Regions from separate parts of the Homo sapiens genome. Here regions 1 and 2 are each linked to region 3. The links are contacts of gene promoters, found by promoter capture Hi-C in human tissues and cell types (Jung and others, 2019). All regions are on one chromosome and are shown on one strand. The core of a region is centred on a gene start or on the middle of the fragment in contact, and the rest is flanking DNA. Distances in the headings are between cores, read along the strand shown. Region 1 overlaps TNR (tenascin R). Region 2 overlaps LINC02803 (long intergenic non-protein coding RNA 2803). Region 3 holds the start of TNR (tenascin R).

Region 1 (3,176 bases), core at 59-2,558, 170 kb before region 3:
TACTGAGTACCTATTATGTACTGTGTCAGCCATTAGGGATTCAGTGGTGGACAAAACAGATGTAGCACATTCCTCATGGAATTTAGTAACTAAGCAGTCTGGAGAAGTCATTGGTGCTATTGACCAAGTATCTCTTGCTCTCTGCCTTCTGGAGGCCTGGCAGGATTGCACTTTCTGGCCTCTTTAGGTTTGCTGGGGCCATGTGGCTTGTGAGTGGAGGTACACCATGTCACTTCCAGGACAAAGCTTTATTTCATTGTCAGTGTGAGACCTTCCCAAGCAATATTCAAGTTGGTGGCTGTTCTAACAGCCTGGGTCCCTGAGAAACTAAAATAAGCAGAGTCTGCCAGCTAACTTGCAATGGACAGGTGGTGTGAACAAGAAATAAACTTACATTGTTTTAAGCCACTGAGCATTTGGGAGCATTTTTTACTATAGCATAACCTAGCCTGTCCTGACTGATATACTTCTATCAGGGACCAACACCTTTATTGAGAATCCACTATGTGCAAGCCTTGTGCTAGGCACCGTGGTTGGATAGAAGCATTCATGGGTACTCATCTCTACCCTCAGCCTGTCACAGCCTGGTTGACGAACACATGAGGAACATGCCAACCATCATTTTTAGCACATAGACACCCAATAAATGTATTGGTTGCTAATAGGAGTCTATCAGTCAGAGGCTAAAGAGGAGTAGAACTCAAAGGAGAGAGAGAGAGTGCCTCAGATTGGGTAGTGAGGAAAGACTTTGTGGAGGTTTGGACTTGAGATGGGCCTTGAAGGCTAGATTGAATGTAACCAGGTAGACAGCAGTGGATAGAGCATTCCAGGTGGGAGAGAGCCCGCACCACAGTGCACCGGGGGACTGTGTATGATGGGCTTAGGAGGCAGTTGGTAAAAGTTGCTGTCCCCACACAAGCAGTGAGAAGGCTAAGTGGTGGGGACTGCACTGCTAAGTTGAACCAAGCTGGAGCCTGCAGATGCCAGTGGAAAAGTCATCCTCCTGGGAGCTGTGGGGGCAAAGGAAAAGGTGTGGCAAAGTGGATGGCCCAGGCCTGCTCTGCTAGGGGCTGCGATTCGAGACATCCTCATTTGGGGAGCTGTGCCTCCAGCCAGCAGCTATTTTTTCCCCTCATTCTCTGCAGAAGGTAATAACCCGTCACCAGAGCAAATAAAGTCTGATTTACATGAAATTTAATGCTAAGAATTTTCCTTTATTCCCCAGCACTGCTGTGGTAGGATGGCAGTGATGGCACAGCTGGGCCTGCTGTGTGCAGCTGCGGGATTTCACTGGATAGAAGTTTAAAAAGAAATTACTTTTCTGTGACAGGGTCTATCACCATGGGCAGGGGGCTCTCAGTCAGCTTGGCAATTTCCCACCGGTTTTCCCTGAAAGAGATGCAAAGTCAGGTGGAGAGAATTTGAGCAAGGTGGGAGGAGAGGAGGAAGTGCAGTCAGAAATCTATTCAGTATTTCCGGGCGCTGGTGGGTGATCCTTAGCCTCACTGCGACAGTGACTTGAGTCTCATAAAGCAGCACTGGTACCACCCTTGCACAGGCCATCATGATTACCATCTATCACCAATGATCAGAAATATTCTTTCAGGACCAGCCCTGACTGTACTAGGCACAGCAGCTACAAAGACAAGGCCACTGCCCCTAGGAATTTATCCTTAGTGACACCAGCTACTCACATAAAAGCATGATCTTTCCCCACCTCCATCATCATCCCACCACACCATCCCAAGCTTGTAAATACTTCATAAACTTTACTATCCTTTGCTAAATGTTCACCCTTTCACTTAGAATATCTGTATACATCCTATTCATTTTTTGAGACTCTGCATAATCCTACTTCATTTTTGAGACACTATTTTTTTAGATGCCACCTCTTCCATGAAGCCTTCTTAAACCCCCAAACCAAAATAAGGCTCCTCTTCCTCTGTGCTCCCAATTCACACTAATTACAACTTATTTTAGTGCTCATTATTTCTCTACTCTGTGTATGATAATTGAGATGCATGTGTTTTCCCATCACTGGACTCTGTAAAATCCTCAAAGACTAATATAAAGACCCTGGTAATTAGCCAAAGAAGGGCCATCCATTCTTTTTCAAGCATGCCCCCTGGGGGTTTCAATTCATTCCCCCACACCATATGCAGGGTGATTAGAGACCTTGTGTTATTCTCATCTGGCAGGGAAAGGGAGTTCATGCAGCGGGGTAAGCATATATAGGGTACAAGATGTAGGCTACAGAGAGTCTTGAATCTCAGGCTAGGGAGTCTGGATCCAACTCTAGAGACAATAGGGGCCCAGGGAAGAATTTGGGGTAACTGCCTTCAAGTAGTTCAATAACTTCCCCCACAGTTTGTTGGGCAGGTTGTGTCTTGTTATTACTTTTCTTTGTCCTTGGGATCAGCGTTTTAGGAGTTTGCTAGGTCTGGGAGTGAAGACATTTCTTTTACTTGACCAAGTGACCTGAGGATTCCCTGGTCACCCTCTTGGGCCATGACGGTTCCATTTCCGGGATCTCCCTGCTGCCTAACACACAACAGACAATCAATTACTCTTGCCATGATTTATCTGAGGCCACACTGGAATCTTCCATCTTCACTAGATGTCTGACACTGCCCCACACAAGCCTTGGTCAGTGTGGGTGCTCAGGAAGTACAAGTGGCTTGGAGGGCTGGGGGTGCGGGTTTGGGAGCGAGGTAGGGAAAGGGGCTGGCAGCTATCATACTGACCCTTCCTGCGCCTGTAAATAATGCCATCTATAATATCGTTTCTGTGGAGGGCCACGCTAACTGTCAGAGTGTTCAGAATCTGTGGTCTACCCATTGGCCTTTCCTGCACTGTATTTGATGGTCCAGCTGCAGCAGAGCAGCACGAGGAGGGAAATCTACTGCCCCAAATGCTATATTCCCGAGCCTATTAGAAATGAGTTTCACATTTTTCTGCAGGGAAAGATTATCCATGCCATTGCTCATGCAGATAACTAAGAGTGGGTTGTCAATATCCTACATATTAACTGTGTGACCTTGAGCGAGTTATTTCACCTCCCTGAACCTCGGCTTCCTCCTCTGTAATATAAGGAGGAAATTGCTTTGAAAAGTTGTTGAAAGCAGAAAATGAAGACCCAGCCCAGGGCCTGCCGTGTGCTGGATGCTCAATATATG
Region 2 (3,214 bases), core at 527-3,026, 160 kb after region 3:
CTGGCCAGGGAGAACTTCTTCGGCTTACCTTGGGAGTGGCCTGTATAGAATTCTGCTGACAAAGAGCACATCTCTTTTCCATACGTTTTGAATACTTTTCCCTTTTTGGTAGGTGTAGAAAGAATTTAGTGTCTTTAAATTCCCTCTTTTATTCAGGTGATTTTGTTGATGACATGACAATACTAACCAAGCAAATGCGTACTGTGGCATAGGAGTTAGTTTGCTAGGTAGTTTCCATAGTCGGTCAAATTTCATTTAGCCCCTTTTATAATCCTTTTGTCTATTTTCTTTTACAAAGGATTGTTTTAAAAATGAACAAACGTTTCTCATTGTGTTAAAAATGAAGCTTTTTAAGTTTGGAGATTGCTGTGTTTTAACAGCAGCTTTTGAAGCTTTGCTAGCAAAATGAACTACCGATACCTGAGCAGGCAGTTGTAAAACTCCTAATAAATCAGCTACCAATTGGATAGGAGGTTTTTTTCAGTTCTATTCCCTCTATTTAAAAAATTGTTTGCTCTGTTGCATGACAGACACCAAAGACATAGTTACTATCAGTGTGACTATACACACACACACACATATATATGTGTGTATACATATATATGTGTATATGTGTGTATATATATACATATATATATATACACTTTAAGTCTGGTTAAAATGGAAACTTTAGACAAATTAAATGATTAATTAATTAACAGAGTTTAATTGAGCAAAGCATGATTTAGGAGTCAGACAGCCCTCAGAACCACGGTAGGTACAGAGCGACTCTGGCACTGCCATGTGGTCAGGGAGGATTTCTAAACAGAAAAAGGAAAGTGAACAGAAAACAGAAATGAGGTACAGAGATAGCCAGATTAGTTACAGCTCAGTGCTTGCTTTATTTGAACATGGTGTGAACAGTTGGCTACCTGTGATTGACTGAAACTCGGCTGCTGTAATTGGCTAAGATTCAGCTATTTGTTACAAGAGTAGGTTATAGTCTGTTTACAAATCCAGTTAGGTTACAGTTCACTTTATATGAAGAAACTTTTAGACCAAATTTAAATATGTAAGGAGGCAGTTTTAGGTTAAACTTAATTTAACAAATCCTCTCTTTAGGCGATTGATGTCACTCTGTCGCTATCATAAACGTTCTTATTTGGACTCAAATCCCACTGGGAAATAGCAAAGCAGTGGAATTTGTAAGGTGGGAACAAGGACTTCAGGTTACTTTTTTGTAAGGGTTACTCCAGAAAGGGCTTTCTCTCTCTTTCTCTCTCTCTCTTTCTCTTTCTTTTTGATAAGGAGTTTCACTCTGTCGCCCAGGCTGGAGTGCAGTGGTGCGATCTCGACTCGCTGCAACCTCCACCTCCCGGGTTCAAGTGATTCTCCCACCTCAGCTTCCCGAATAGCTGGGATTACAGGCGACTGCCACCATGCCCAGCTAAGTTTTGTACGTTTAGTAGAGATGGGGTTTTGTTCTGTCGCCTACGCTGGTCTTGAACTCCTGGGCTCAAGCAAAAAGTGCTGGGATTACAGGCGTAAGCCGCCGCACCGGGCCAGAAGGGGCTTTCTTATGCTAGAGTCTCCTGTTTCAGGAGAGAGACAGAAAAAAAATAACCGTAGTCTGCTTTGGGATCTATCTGCTTCCATAGTTTCAAGTTTCAAGTTTCAGTTTGATTATGTCACATTTAGCATGAGTGACTCCATGGACCAGAGATTCTATTGCTGCAGTGTAGGTGGCAAGGGCAGTCTTTTTCTGATTTTTTCTCTTTCTTTCTTTCTTTCTTTCTTTCTTTCTTTCTTTCTTTCTTTCTTTCTTTCTTTATTATTATACTTTAAGTTTTAGGGTACATGTGCACAATGTGCAGGTTAGTTACATATGTATACATGTGCCATGCTGGTTCTGATGTTTTTAGAAGGCTCAGTCTCCAGGTTCTAGATCATAATGGGTTTCATTGTCTTCAGTTAGTGCATCATGAAAAGCTTCCTTCATCTCGAAAAAAAAAAAGTGCACTTTGGCATAATGCATTAAAGATTTGCAGCATTTAGTCATTTCAGAGTTTAGGAGCAGAGGATACATGAGGTCCTATTATTAGGGGCACAAACCTTTCAGTGACTATTTCATAAGGGGTCAACTTATATTTTCCATTGAAAGTGGATCTAATTGTAATCAATCTGCAATACCATTGACCAAGGAAATCCAGCCAATTCAGTTAACTTTGTCTAATGCTGTTGTATCTGTAAACTTTATTTAACTGTTTTACAACTTGTCCAGTGAAACAAATACCTCTATCATTGGAGATTTCTCCAGAATGCCCCATGAGGGAAACACATTTCCTAATAACCTCTTAGCCACTGTTATACCATCAGTCTTCTTGCATGAAAAAGCTTCTAAACATCTAGAAAACATGCACTGAAAATGGCAGAGAAATAAAATCCCTCTATAAATGTCCAAATGGCACATCAGGTAGCAAAAACCAGAAGTTTCTATTGTCTTCCATATATACAAATTGCAGAGCTTTTAATAGTGGAGGCTTTAAGGATGTAAGAGGGACCATGTGGTTATCCAGGTTCTCCATGAGTCCACATTTAACAACTAATTTATAACCTCGTAAACACCAATTTTGTTTCTCCAATACAGGTGCATAGCACTGTTTATTAGATGAGTTATCAGAGGTAATTTGGCTTGGACTATGGAGTTTATTGAAACTGCAGATCTTAACAATTTCATTATTGGCTTATCTAGCATGAAAATCTGGCAAAGTATTTCCTTGGTATTCAATTAATTCTTGTCTTGCTTGGATTAGCAGTTTTATAAACCAGTCAGTCTCTTCATTAGAATTCTGGGAATTCTTACCCAGCGCAAATGATGTCAGGGTCCTTTCTATCCTTTCCATGAACGTTTTAGGAGACACAATACTTTAGCAATTTACTTGCTTCTGAAGAGCTTTCAGAAAATGCATCAGGGCTGGGCACGGTGGCTCACACCTGTAATCCCAGCGCTTTGGGAGGCTGAGATGGGTGGATCTCTTGAACCCAGGAGTTCAAGATCAGCCTGGGCAACATAGTGAGACCTCGTCTCTAAAAAAAAAAAAAAAAAAAAAAAAAGGGAGAAAGAAAAAAGAAAATGCATCAGAATTAAGCAGTTAACTGTGGAAACAACTTAAAATAGTCATGGTTAAAGACAAAAATGACAAATAAATTTGGTTATTTCTGTTGCATAATAACC
Region 3 (2,989 bases), core at 391-2,890:
GAAGACTTGCTCCTACAAGAAGCCACATCTCTTTCAAGTTCCCTGTAGGATGCTGGCTCCACGGAGACTTGAATGATTGAAGGAAATCCTCAACACCACTTGTTGAATGACTCAACCAGGTAGGTGTGGCCAGGACTGAATGGGGCAGGGGCAGGCCTATAGTGTCTCCAAGACAATACCAAAGCAGATGCAGGGAATTGACTGAACATACTTCAGAGAGGCAGAAAGCAGGAGAGACAGAGTAATACCTTGCAAAAAGTAGCAGCAGTGAAGAAAGAAGTAATAATGAGCTCCTGTTTGCAGAGCCTCTCAGTGCTGGAGGAGAACAGAGTACCACTTCAAGCCCTCCTGAGTCTGGGACAAGTCTAATTTTGTTTCTGCTCACCCTAGACATATAGAGACAAACCTTTATTCTTAGTTGTTTTTCACTGCCAAATGCCCCAGAAAACAGGGCAGAACAGACTTTGTCTTCTTTCCAACCACCCATAGCCAAAGATGGCATAAAAGTGGAGGGTACCTCCTGCCTCCTTGCAAATGTAATATAACCCACACCAGCCAGTCTCTGCAAAGCTCAAGACACTAGCACTTTCCTACCACCATGAAGTCAGAAGGGACCTCAACCCCCCAAAGCCGCCCCAGCCTGAGCTTCACCTGTTGCACCTGCCCACTTACCATGGGTTCACACCAGAAGAGAAAGTAAAAGGTCAGGTTGGGCTCTCTCCACAGCAAGAGCCCAGAGAATACTAGGAAACTGACATTTTACAAAGCACCTCTTTAAAGCTCTCTCAGAGGTGCGTAACTTTTAACTCTACCTCCACTCCCAACCCCCCAGGCTTCCTTTGCAACTCTTTCCCACCATGGATGGCTTGTCGGGAGAGAGTTAAAGAAGGTGCACGACTAATTCCCCAAACCATCTCGCTTATCTACAGACAAAAAGAACAGCCTTACATGGAGACACGCAGAAACCACCCGCAATTTAGCTCAGACCTCACCTGTCTTATGCAACAGTACACACACACACACACACACACACACACACACCCGCAAGGCCAGAGTCCAATCCCCCTTTAATTCGGTAAACATAGTTTTGCGCCTTTCTTTTCCCTACGCAGAACCCGACTCTACTGGCAGCAGAGAAATAGATGTAACCCTAGTGCCAAATGCCTTGCAGAACACACAGATACACAGGAACCAAAATGCATCTCATAGCTCTCCTTGGTGCTGAAATCACGTTAGCCAGAAAATCAAAGGAGCGAGTGCTCTGGACTTACCCAGGCTGGGGGTGGGCGGCCGGGGAGCGAGAGGAGCTTCCTGGGAAGAAAATTCTTGCTTGCTCAGGCTGGAGCCAGCTGATGCGCTCACCTAGAGAGCCCTCCTCTTTCCCTTCTCTTCCCTTCCTCCTATTCTGGGAGGAAGAGACAAGGCTCCACGAAAGAAATGAAACCCAAGCTGTCAGGGCTACGGGTGGAAGGAGAATGAGGAGGCAACCAAAATAAGATCAAAAAGTCAGGTGGCTTCACTCCACTAGTGGTAATTCCTTGGGTCAGAGAGGACCCCCTTCTCTCACTCTCCCTGGGTCTGCCCGTCTCCTCTGGGTGTTGAGCCAACAGCCTTAGCACAGTCGGTTCCTGCCTCTGACGTGAAAGAGAGGAGGAAGCCTGGGACTGCTTTGCTGTCTCTCTCTCTCTCTCTCTCTCTCTCTCTCTCTCTCTCTCTCTCTCACGCGCTCTCTCTTTTCCCCTCTTGCTGAAATTTCAGCAGCATGATTTTTTTAAGCCTCCGTTTTTTCCATCCCCCTACAAGCAGCCCCCTAGTGGACAGAAAAGAAAAGCATCCTAAATCCTCTTGAACAGTCCAGATTCAGGCACAGAAATACTCCCCGCACCCAACTCTTGGAGCTGCCTCTGCATAGGCAGGGTCCTGAAGAAGATAGAGGCTTCCCTCTGACCAACCCAGATAAGAAGAGAAAGGGAGAGGATGGAAGCTTTTGCAGATCCTTTGCCCATGATTGAAGGAGAAATCCAGGGTGGAATGGGTTGGGATAGAATGTTTTGGAATAAGGTCAGTTGTGGGGTTCTCAAGTGGTTTGAGGTCCGGGCTCAGCAGAAGGAACCCTCCAAAAAGTCAGCGTCTGCAGCCAGGTGAAGTATGTGTATACGTAGCACAACCCAGGCATGGGAATGCCTAAAGAGGCAGAGGATACAGGGAGCTGGCCCTTCATCCAACTCCACAATATAGCTTTTTTGTAAAGCTAGTAAGAAAAATATCTGAAAAGATATGGCCTGAGATCATCTCAGAAGTAGAGACAGAAGTGACCTTGATGCACATTTATGGAGAACCTTGGCAGAGAAGGGGCATCAAGGGGTCACTGCTCATAGGCTCATAAGGGATATCTAACATTCTCTTTTAAATGTACAGCCACACAGCCTCCCGGAAAGAGTCCTAATACTTACATCTAAAAATCTGAGTCCTGGTTTCAGACTGCCACTTGCTTACTGGACATTTTGCTTCTCTATGGCTCAATTTTACTGTTTGTAAAATGTGGATAATGCTGCCCCCTCCCTACTGAATAGGAATGCTAAGGGACTGGAATGATATAGAAACATAGAACCTCAGGATTGGCAGGGAATTTAAAGGTAATCTTATACAAACACTCTTCTTATATTTGATTCACTCCTGGCAAATAACAATAGCTAACATTTATAGAGTGTTTATACCAGGTGCTAGGCACTGTTATAAGCCCTTACATGTATTAGCTCATTTAAGCCATACAATAACTCTATAATGCAGAGGCTATTATTGCTACTCTATAGACTGGGAACTGAGTAACAGAGGAATGAAATAACTTTCCAAAGATCACACAACTAGTGAGTGTCAGGGATGGTAATGGAACCTGAGCCATCTGACCCTGGAGCTTCCTCATTGAATTACCATGTTCTATAAATGTACACTTCAGGAGTGACATTTGAAGTAAATAGAAGATAGCACC

The links. Contacts are between HindIII fragments. The study calls those that stand out against the background at their distance.
Region 1: a fragment that was not itself captured here is called in contact with the fragment with the promoter of TNR in region 3 in 1 of the 25 tissues and cell types used here (H1 embryonic stem cells).
Region 2: a fragment that was not itself captured here is called in contact with the fragment with the promoter of TNR in region 3 in 4 of the 25 tissues and cell types used here (H1 embryonic stem cells, bladder, dorsolateral prefrontal cortex and 1 more).

Annotation. Positions count from the first base shown.
Region 1 is chr1:175,574,899-175,578,074 of GRCh38, forward strand. The region is part of intron 1 of TNR (tenascin R); the gene reads right to left. Among named protein-coding and RNA genes, the nearest start is that of TNR, 170 kb to the right of the region's middle. The HindIII fragment of the contact is 3,604 bases long and covers 1-3,110 here.
Region 2 is chr1:175,905,705-175,908,918 of GRCh38, forward strand. It overlaps LINC02803 (long intergenic non-protein coding RNA 2803), which reads right to left. Exons shown (of 5, transcript XR_001738304.2): 3 at 2,843-3,066. Among named protein-coding and RNA genes, the nearest start is that of LINC02803, 14 kb to the right of the region's middle. The HindIII fragment of the contact is 3,756 bases long and covers 1-3,214 here.
Region 3 is chr1:175,741,955-175,744,943 of GRCh38, forward strand. It overlaps TNR (tenascin R), which reads right to left and starts at 1,641. Exons shown (of 23, transcript NM_003285.3): 1 at 1,272-1,641. The HindIII fragment of the contact is 10,162 bases long and covers 1-2,989 here.